Linked DNA regions of Homo sapiens: region 1 is linked to region 2. Evidence: promoter capture Hi-C in human tissues and cell types (Jung and others, 2019). All regions are on one chromosome and are shown on one strand. The core of a region is centred on a gene start or on the middle of the fragment in contact, and the rest is flanking DNA. Distances in the headings are between cores, read along the strand shown.

What was found. The method cuts DNA at HindIII sites, captures the fragments that hold promoters and counts their contacts. A contact is called where the count stands out against the background at its distance.
Region 1: a contact is called between a fragment that was not itself captured here and the fragment with the promoter of SPAG17 in region 2, in 2 of the 25 tissues and cell types used here (dorsolateral prefrontal cortex and stomach).

The regions. Positions count from the first base shown.
Region 1 is chr1:118,976,868-118,981,730 of GRCh38, reverse strand. All of the region lies in intron 1 of TBX15 (T-box transcription factor 15), which reads left to right. Among named protein-coding and RNA genes, the nearest start is that of TBX15, 9.0 kb to the left of the region's middle. The HindIII fragment of the contact is 6,637 bases long and covers 1-4,863 here.
Region 2 is chr1:118,182,560-118,187,004 of GRCh38, reverse strand. SPAG17 (sperm associated antigen 17) reads left to right here and starts at 1,777. Exons shown (of 49, transcript NM_206996.4): 1 at 1,777-1,934. The coding sequence starts at 1,848. It overlaps LOC105378930 (a long non-coding RNA gene), which reads right to left and starts at 1,775. Exons shown (of 4, transcript XR_947746.3): 1 at 1,192-1,775; 2 at 724-850. The HindIII fragment of the contact is 16,923 bases long and covers 1-4,445 here.

The DNA of each region.
Region 1 (4,863 bases), core at 905-3,404, 790 kb before region 2:
GTGGAAAATATGATTTAGTAGGGAGGACCCGCTGTGAAATGGGAAAAGGGGAATTCAAGAAACTGGTGAGGACCAATCAACATTTCTTCAGTGCCACTAATGGCTTCACTTTTAGGCAGGATATCTTGCTGACTGCAAAACTGATGATGAGCTTTTGATACCAGAAGTGAAAACAGGCCTTGCAAATGACTACTTTTCATTTTATACTTTTAATATTAGCTAGTGTTTTATTTATTTTATAGATAAGTGTATAAAACATATGTTCACAAATGTATGTGCTTATACACAAACTTATGTGTGAACACCATAATATCACCAGAACACTATATCTACATCAAAATATCAGTTCTGAATTGGATGTAGACAAAATTTGGGACAAGAAACTGCCATTGTGTGTGTGTGTGTGTGTGTGTGTGTGTGTGTGTGTAGCTAGTTTAACAAATTGGGAATGTATAAAATTTGGGAGGCCAAAAGTTTTGTCACCCCTAGGTATCATGGGACGATTCTAAAGCATCCCAGTTTTGAAACTTCCAGGTAATGGGCATTTTCATTTAACTTGTAAATAAACTGATGACTGTGACCAAAGTCAGAAGTACCAGTCAAGGCCAGGCTCATGCCTGTAACCCCAGCACTTTGGGAGGCCGAGGCGGGGGGCGGGGATCACGAGGTCAGGAGTTCAAGACCAGCCTGGCCAAGATGGTGAAACCCCATCTCTACTAAAAATACAAATTTTAGCCAGGTGTGGTGGTGCGGGCCTGTAATCCCAGCTACTTGGGAGGCTGAGGCAGGAGAATCGCTTGAACCAGGGAGGCGGAGGTTGCAATGAGCCGAGATAGTGCCACTGCACTCCAACCTGGGTGACAGAGCAAGACTCCGTCTCAAAAAAGAAGGAAAAAAAAAAGCACCAGTCAAAATACCAGAAATTGAGACTGTACAGATGCTATTTAAAAGAACAGGAGGAGTGGAAACTTTTCCAACTAAATTTGGCATTTAATTTTGTAATTTGTATTAATTTTGGATGGGCAGAATGCTACTTTTTATTCTAAAAAGTGGTTTCATGTTCTTCCATGTAGAAAGTAAACGGAATAACTAAGATAAATCTTAATAATAAAAATGGCTTATAGAAATAACTAGAGAAACATCGTGATTTGGGGAAATTAATTTAAGAACGTAAGAAATGCATGTAAAAACGTCCTCTTATTTGTCTTCTTACATTTTCTACAATATAGTTGCCAAGGCTCAAATGAGCTGACAGTTTCCAAAATGTTGCCATACACTTTAGAGGATTAAAAAACAAAAACACAAACCACCCACTACAGATGACGAGTAGAGTTCCCTTGGAAAGGGAACATTAGAGAGGTCATTATTATAGACCTAGCCCGGAGCCTTGGAGTTTTTTTAGCTTTTAGTTGTCAACTGGATGAACCGATTTTCCGAATCCCCTCACCGCTGCGTTCTCTTTACTATCCCACAGCTGGGAGCGTGTAGTTTAAACTCCGGATAGGGTCCGGGAAGCAGTTAACCCCCTTACTTGCCACTCACTTCCCCTCCCCCAATTTTCCTCCACGCACGATGAAAACGTCCAATTCTTCCCCCTCTCCAAGAATTTCAGATCCCGTTTCGCCGCAGAAGGAACTGGGATTGCATCTCTTCTCTTCAACCCATCTCTGGAAAAACAGCGCAGTTTCGGTGACCTTCAGAAGTCAGAATTAGGCCGTGGCCGCGTCTGCCCGCCCTCGGCCCCTCGGCCCCTCGGCCCGGCCTTGGAGGCGCCGCGGGGCCGGAACGGCGAACGGGTCAGGCGCGGCTTGGCTGCGAGGCCTCGGTGTGCCAGCCCGAGTTCCTGTTCTCGCGCCTGGGGCTCCGCGCTGGCCCCACCGCCTCGCCTCGCCTCGCCGCATCGCGCCGCGTGCGCCCGGGGTTATCGCGGGGCCTTGGAAACCCGGGACCCTGGAAACCCGGGACCCGGAACCCTGAGGGATGGCGGCTGTTCTTAGCTCTAATTACATCCTGGAGAAATGTGGGGACCCTGGGCTAACCGGGAAGGCCCTGGTGAAAGACACCCCCCAAAAAACAGAACAGACCAAAACAAAACAAAAACAAATCAGGAACCCGCCAACGACAAACCAGAAATGCAAATGGAACCCAAGGGTCTCACACCTCGCGCCCTGAGGGGAGTTCGAGCTTTTGCTTTCATCAGGCAGAACAAATTTCCGAGGAATCAAACTGACTTCAAACATTAGCAATTAGAAACCAAGAATCCGCTGGCTTGAAGAACTTTTAATCCCTAACCATTTCCAAATGGGTAAATCTAGGGTCAGTATATATCGTAGCTAGTCTGTTAAAAAGGAAAGTCATCCTGTGGGATCGTGACGTGGAGGATCCCTGGGTGCCTAAGAGGCAGGGACGCTGACGCCCAGAAAGCGGGCATTGCCCACCGAGACAAAGAAAAGCAAATGATTGTCCTTCCCGCTGCTCTTGGGGATTAAAAAACAATGAACGAATTCTTTTATTAAAAAAAAAGAAAGAAAAAGAAACCAACCAAGTGTAAAAGCAGAGTGAGAAGTGACTACTAGTAGCTGAAATAACTGCGTTCTTTTAAGAACCCGGCGGGAATGGCTTCCCTTTGGAGGGAAGTCCTGTCCCGATGCATCCTTGCTCCAAAGCTTTAATCTCTCCAGGATACAGGGCTCCGAATTGTAAACCTAGGGGCTAGGTGCCTCGGGTGGTTTAGTTCTTCCACTCTTGCTCCTGAAAAATAAATAACTGATTTTCACAGTGGGGAGGGGCAAACATTTGAGCCAACAAGAGATTGTGAACACAGCAGTGCCTTCCCTGGGTTCAGAAATGTTTTCTCAATTTAGAAGGTTAATTAATAATTTGATATTTTTTGGCATCAAAGGGTGGGAGGGGCTATACGTACTATTTAGAAAGAAGGATTTAGTTAAAAAATTAAAGGTATAAACAAACTTGCAAAGGAATACTGAATTGTAAAATATATCAGAAACTTTACTTACTTATGTGGATATATATGTCTTCACTCTCCTGCAAAGCTTTCAACACAGACCTTCATGTTCTGTATTATATCCATATTTTTATGGTAGAAAGAGGGCTGAAGGAGCTTAAGTTAGGAGTCCTAGATTCTAGTGCTAGCTTTGAAATTGATGTTGGAACCAGGGATATTTGTTTTAAAACCAGACATATTAATGTTGAAAAAAAGTTTCAAAATTGTTTTATAGCCACTGATGAGGCCTCAGTGCCTCATTTGTGAAGTGAGGGAGACAAGGCTCAAATGACTTCTGAGGCCCCTTTAGCTACGAGATTCTGTGATCCTAACTTTGGTTTTGCTTTTTGAAATATTAACATTTTCTCCTAAAGTACTTTGGTCATCACTTGACCCATCCTTACTTTGTTGGAACGAAGGAATTTTACTGCAGTTGTAGAAATTAACAGCAATAGCAACACAAGACCAAAAAATAAAAATAAAAGAGAGAGATTTTTAGAGCTAGAATTAAAAGCTTTGGTAAAGTTCTTGAAAAAGTTTTTATATTAATATCACGTGTTCAACAGTCCTGGATCAGTGATTTCCAGTCCTTGTGTATGATGTAACCTATTGTTGCTTGCGTGAACGCTGTTGAAAGGGTTCTACGGCATTAGCGAATTTAAAGGAAATGTAAGTTATTTATGCTTTGAACATTTTCTGTGCCATTCCCAGAAATAACTGGAAAAACTCTGGATTTGAAAAATGAGGGTTGAAAAAAGCAACTTCATCACTGGTGAGTTGAATTGGTGGGCTAATAAAAATCAGTTGCCCCCTCATTACTATTTGAGTCTGATGGAAAGCACTAGTAACTATTTTCCATGTCTAGTCTGCTTAAGCCGAGATCTTGATCTGGCAGAGATGTGAGAATGCTAAAAGGATGACTTAGTAACAGGCAAAACGCTTGTCAACAAGATAGATCAGAAGACAGCTTAGCATTCAAGGCCTCTATTCATAGCTGCTGAACTTGAGGGCAGGGTCAGATGCAAAACTGTGCCCAGCATACACCTAGGAGGGTTTCTAGTGTTTCTATCTGTAGGACTTTATTTCCTTACAGAGTTCTGCAGGTGGGTTCAAACTCCAGTGATGGCTCCCCACCGTCATCTGATGTCCACATTCTGCACAGCCCCTGTGCAGACTTCTGCAATCATGGAACCTGTGGATTTACTAGTTGTCCTCTGTCGCTACTACCCTATAAACTACTGTAGGCCAATGACCTTGTCCTCATTGTTTTTGTATCTCCAGAACCTAGGACAAGTGGCTGTTACATAGGAAGCACTTAATAAATAACAAAACTATAATAATGATAACACGATAAGAACAACGATAAGAAACAGCAACATTTATTAAATAGGCACTCTGTGCCAGCCCCTGTGCTATATATATATATGTGCATATATATGTGTATATAACAATTATATGTATATCAAAACACTCACAAAATACTCTATCTTATTATCATTTCTATTTGGTGCAATGAATGAATGAATTATACAGTGTAGTGGTTAAGAGCTCAGATTCTTGGGGTCAGACTTCATGTGTCTGAGCCCTGGTTTTAACACTTGCTAGTTGTATGACCTTGGGCAAGTTAGTTAATCACCCTCAACCCTAGTTTCTGCATCTATGAAATTGGAATAATAAATGTGTTCACTAAAGGATTACTTGAGAATTACATGAGATAGTTCACATACAGGAACAAAAGATTTAGCACAAAGCCTATTATTCCTGTCAATTGAATTGACAGCGATTACTCACCTTAGTGAGCAGCTTGGATAAGAAATTGTTTGCAAATTATAATCTATAGCAGCCATTGCCCCTCTCCC
Region 2 (4,445 bases), core at 528-3,027:
TGCATTTTACAGAGCACTGATTGGTGCATTTTTACAGAGCACTGATTGGTGCATTTTACAATCCCCTTGTTAGCTACAGAGCACTGATTGGTGCATTTTACAATCCTAGCTACAGAGTGCTGATTGGTGCATTTTACAATCCTGTTGTAAGAAAAGTTCTCCAAGTCCCCACTCAACCCAGGAAGTCCAGCTGGCTTCACCTCTCAATAAAATGGCCTAGTATTTGCACATAACCTACGCACATCCTCTCCTACACTTTAAATCATATCTAGATTATTTATAATATCTAATATTATGTAAATGCTGTAAAATAGTTGTTATGCTGTATTTTTATTTGTATATTTATTTATGTTTTAATATTTTGGATCCAAAGTTGGTTAAATCCAGGGATGAAGAACTGTGATGATGGGAGGGCTCACTCTAACTATATTAAAGAATTAGGGTGGAAAGATAAACTTCCTTTCATGGTCCAAATTACGAACAAAAGTTGAAGCATCATCATTAAAATTTGCCCCCAAATGAAAAAGGATGCTAGTGGCTGGATAGCACTATCCTCCTTCCCTCAATTTATTCCTCAAAGAAATTAAAAGGGTTAGCAATTAAAAGGTTTAGAACATCCCCCGTGGAAGGTCACCCGTTCATCAGGTTGTGCCCAGGGAAATTAAGTTTCTGGCTTGCATCACCTCACTCATCTGGGCCACTGGGATAACTGAAGCATCTCACCTCTAGGCAAAGTGCAGGGCCTTAATGGCTAGTTAAGCCCTGGTCAGTGCTGAATTCCATATGACTAATGAGACCGCAAGGCACCTTTGGTTGCGCTCTGCCCCAGGGTGTCCTCAAATTTGTCTCACTGCAATAAAAAACAAAAGTAAATCTAGCTCCAGAAGGGGGTATCCCTCATTTTGGCAGGCCTAAAACAGTAGTAGACAGCAGTGTAGCAGTTATGCACACTAGATCTGTGACTCAGATAATCCTGGGATCTAATCCTGGCACCATCAATCAGACACTGTGGGAATTGGATAAGGTGGTTGTGAGAATTAAATGAAATAATCTTGTATATAGCATATAACCAGTGCCCAAGAAACAATGGTTTTTATTACTATCATTATTTTGGGAAACTTGTCCAACCAGGATATTTTAGATATTGATGAGTGCAGGGTGGGAAAAAAGGGGAAAAAAAAGTCTACTTACCAATCAATAAAAGGCAGTTTAAAGGACTGGAGCTGTTTGGGCAGATAAGTACATTAATCCCACCTACAGTTAGATAAGGGGTCACGTGGAAGGGTGATTGGACTTGTTTAGTAAGGCCCCAGAGGCGGAGGCTGAAACAGTGCAGAGGGTAGAGGTCAAGGAGAGACAAATTTGGATTCATATAAGGAAGCATTTGGGGCAGATTAGAGCGGTTGGGAAAAAACGGCATGGGCTGCCTCCTGAAGGGGTCAGTATTCCAATCTTGGTTACTCAGGATCGGAAGAAATCTTGATGGAGGAGTCCTGGATGGGATTCCAGAGATTTTGAGTTTCTAGACAACGCCTCAGACCGTAGAAGAACGTAGCCCGACCTGCGAGGCCAGCCTCGTCCTGCCCTCCTCCAGTTGTGCAGCTTTCCTGCTGAAAAGTCCTAAAATTTGACCGGGGGACTGGGAACCCCGCCCCCAAGCTGCCGCGCGCTCTGAAACTCCGTTGCTGTGGAGACGGAGGCGGTTGACCCAAGGATTCCGAACGGTGTTGGGGGAGGGGAGCCGACGTGGTTCAGGAACTGGGCGTGGCTTCGGTTACTGTGGTAGCGGGGACGCTTAGGCAGGGCCTGCGCCCAGTTTAGAGGCCAATGCTTCTCCCGTCCTTTGCATGGCACCCAAGAAGGAGAAAGGAGGAACTGTGAACACCAGTTCTAAGATATGGGAACCCTCGCTCATAGCTGCACAGTTCAATCAGGTGAGCCTTGAGCCCTTTAAGCCCTCCCTGCCCCCGGCAATGCCAGAGGCCCGGCCAGACCCTCCTAGGCGACGCCTTAAGGCTCGCCCTCTCTTCCGTATCTCTCCGTGGCCTGATGGTTCCAGGACCCAGGGTCCCAGGGACAGGAAGTGCTTGATAAACGAACGGAACTTAAGGGAACACCCACCAGGTGAGTCAGTGTGATTTCAAAGGTTGGTGAGAACTGCCTAGTGGGGAAGAGAGGAGGTGTCGCTCTGACACCTCCAGAACCTTTTCAGTGAAGTCGTCCAGATGGCACTCCACAATTGTACTGGAATTCCTTTTATGGACTTTTTGTTTTCTCCTGAAACCTTCTAAAGGATGAGAATCGCATCAAATCATCTGTGGCCTGGCCCATAATAGGGCTTTAATAAATGCTGAGTGAAAACAGACACGGAGTGCCTAGAATTACACTGTATTTAGTACAAGCGAGCCTTGTATAGATAGGAAAAGATGATTTTTTAATGTAATGCCCTGATCCCACTATATTAAAGTTTTGACATATTTTTAAGGTGTGGGAGATCAGAGCAATGAGGGGTTGGCGGCCAACTTACCCACAGAATGCCACAAAGGCACCAGGCAATCTACAAACCACCTACCACAGGACTTCAAAGTGCATGAGATCCCAGAATTCACTGGCTCCCCACCCAGCTTCAGTAAATGAGGAGCCCAATAGCTCTTGTCACCTGCAGCTGGAAATCCCCTTCTACATTAAGCTGTTTCTACGTACAAGTTAGCATTTGGGAAGAGAAAAGTTGTTTCTGGAAATTCCAGCCCGCCATTATGAACTACTTTGAAAAGTGGGGAAAAAAAATTTTTTTTTCATTTTATATATGTCTGTATGGTGCACTAGAGAGTCAGTACTTAAAGGGAAAATGGATCTAAAGTCTTGTGTTGCCTTCATGAGAAATTTTTACCTGTCTTTATTTTCCACTATAACTGTTTTTTTTTCCTATTAACAGTAATTCTGTTTGATAAGGAAATTAGTCCTGATGAAGAATTTCATGAAAGTAGTTGTGATACTCCTGATGCTGATGTGATGTCATGGAATTTTGGGTCCTTTCTATAACTTTAGTAATGCTGGATGTCAACTCAGTAATCCCCAGTTACATTCTCAAATTCTCAAAGATGTTTTTCAAAGCACTTTGTAAAAGCACCCTCTCTTTTGCTTTTATAAGTCAGCGCTAGCCAAAATAATTTTTTCTCCATTTTCTTTGAGATTGTGTAGGCCAAGTTTGGTCTTGGAGTGAACATTTCTGCTTGAATTATAAACTGCTGAACAACGGAGTTTGATGGAGGTGCTGACACTGCATTAGCTTTAGTGTTGCAAATATGAAGCTATAATTTTCCTAGTTGAATGGAAAACCTAAAGGCACTATTTGTCCTTATGGCTTGAAAACCTGAAATAATATTCAGCTTTCTTGATCCTACTCAAACAATATAACTTCAATAAATCTTATGTATTAATAGAAAGAATTTGAACTCAAAGTAATATGTAGTTTTAACTATAAACAGTGAACTCAATTTTCTTCAGTTTGTTGGAATACACATTTTCTTATTGCAGGAAAAAGACAACTACCCTCCACCTCCTCTCTCATTTTTCTCTGCTTGATTTCATGTCTGATCTAAAAGAATAATTCCCAGATTAACCCAGCAGTTCAATGCCCAGAGGCGTGCCCTAACCACCAATGAAACGGACTCTGAATTTAGGTTATAGATGACTGTGGGTGTGTGAATTTTGAGCACACGTAGTGTGCTCTATTGTTTTAGTATCCAGAGAGTTTCTTTCCATACACTTGTTACTCATGTCCAAGTATGTGTGGTTGAGTGTGTGTGCTAGTTTATGTGTTGTATTATGTGTGTGTGCTGGGGGTGAGAGAGAAGGAAAGAATTCCTCCAGTCTTCCATAAACAAGTTTTTAGAAGTAACTCATTGGATAACCCAAATCAATAGTATTTTTGAACTCATGTTCATGTTGGGTAGGCTTTAAAGAGAATAAACAAGTTCACATTTTGGTTTTATTGAATTTACCTTGTATCACTGTCTCAGGTTGTCCTTTCAGGCTGGAATAATTATCAGTTGTTTCATACATTTTAGTTGGTTTTAAAATATAAAATGATAGCAAATAATACAAAGCATTCTATCACTAAGCACTAAATGATTAAATAGAGACTAGAGGTTAGGAAGATGAATATGGGCTGGGATAGTCAGGAAATGATTTGTAAAATATTTGCCTTCACCTGGGCTCTAAATAATGGGTGGAATTTGAACAGGTAGAATGAAGAAGCATGATTATTTTAAGTAGGGAGACTAATATGTGCACCAAGTAAATCTGATACATTTAGATTGGGAGAAAAATGTACGTTAGACCACTTCTGGGTCTACGTTGCTCCTAAATTAATTCCGTCAAGGAAATGGTCATTTACTATCTTTGCTATCCATATACCAAAATATTTAACTTACTGATATGAG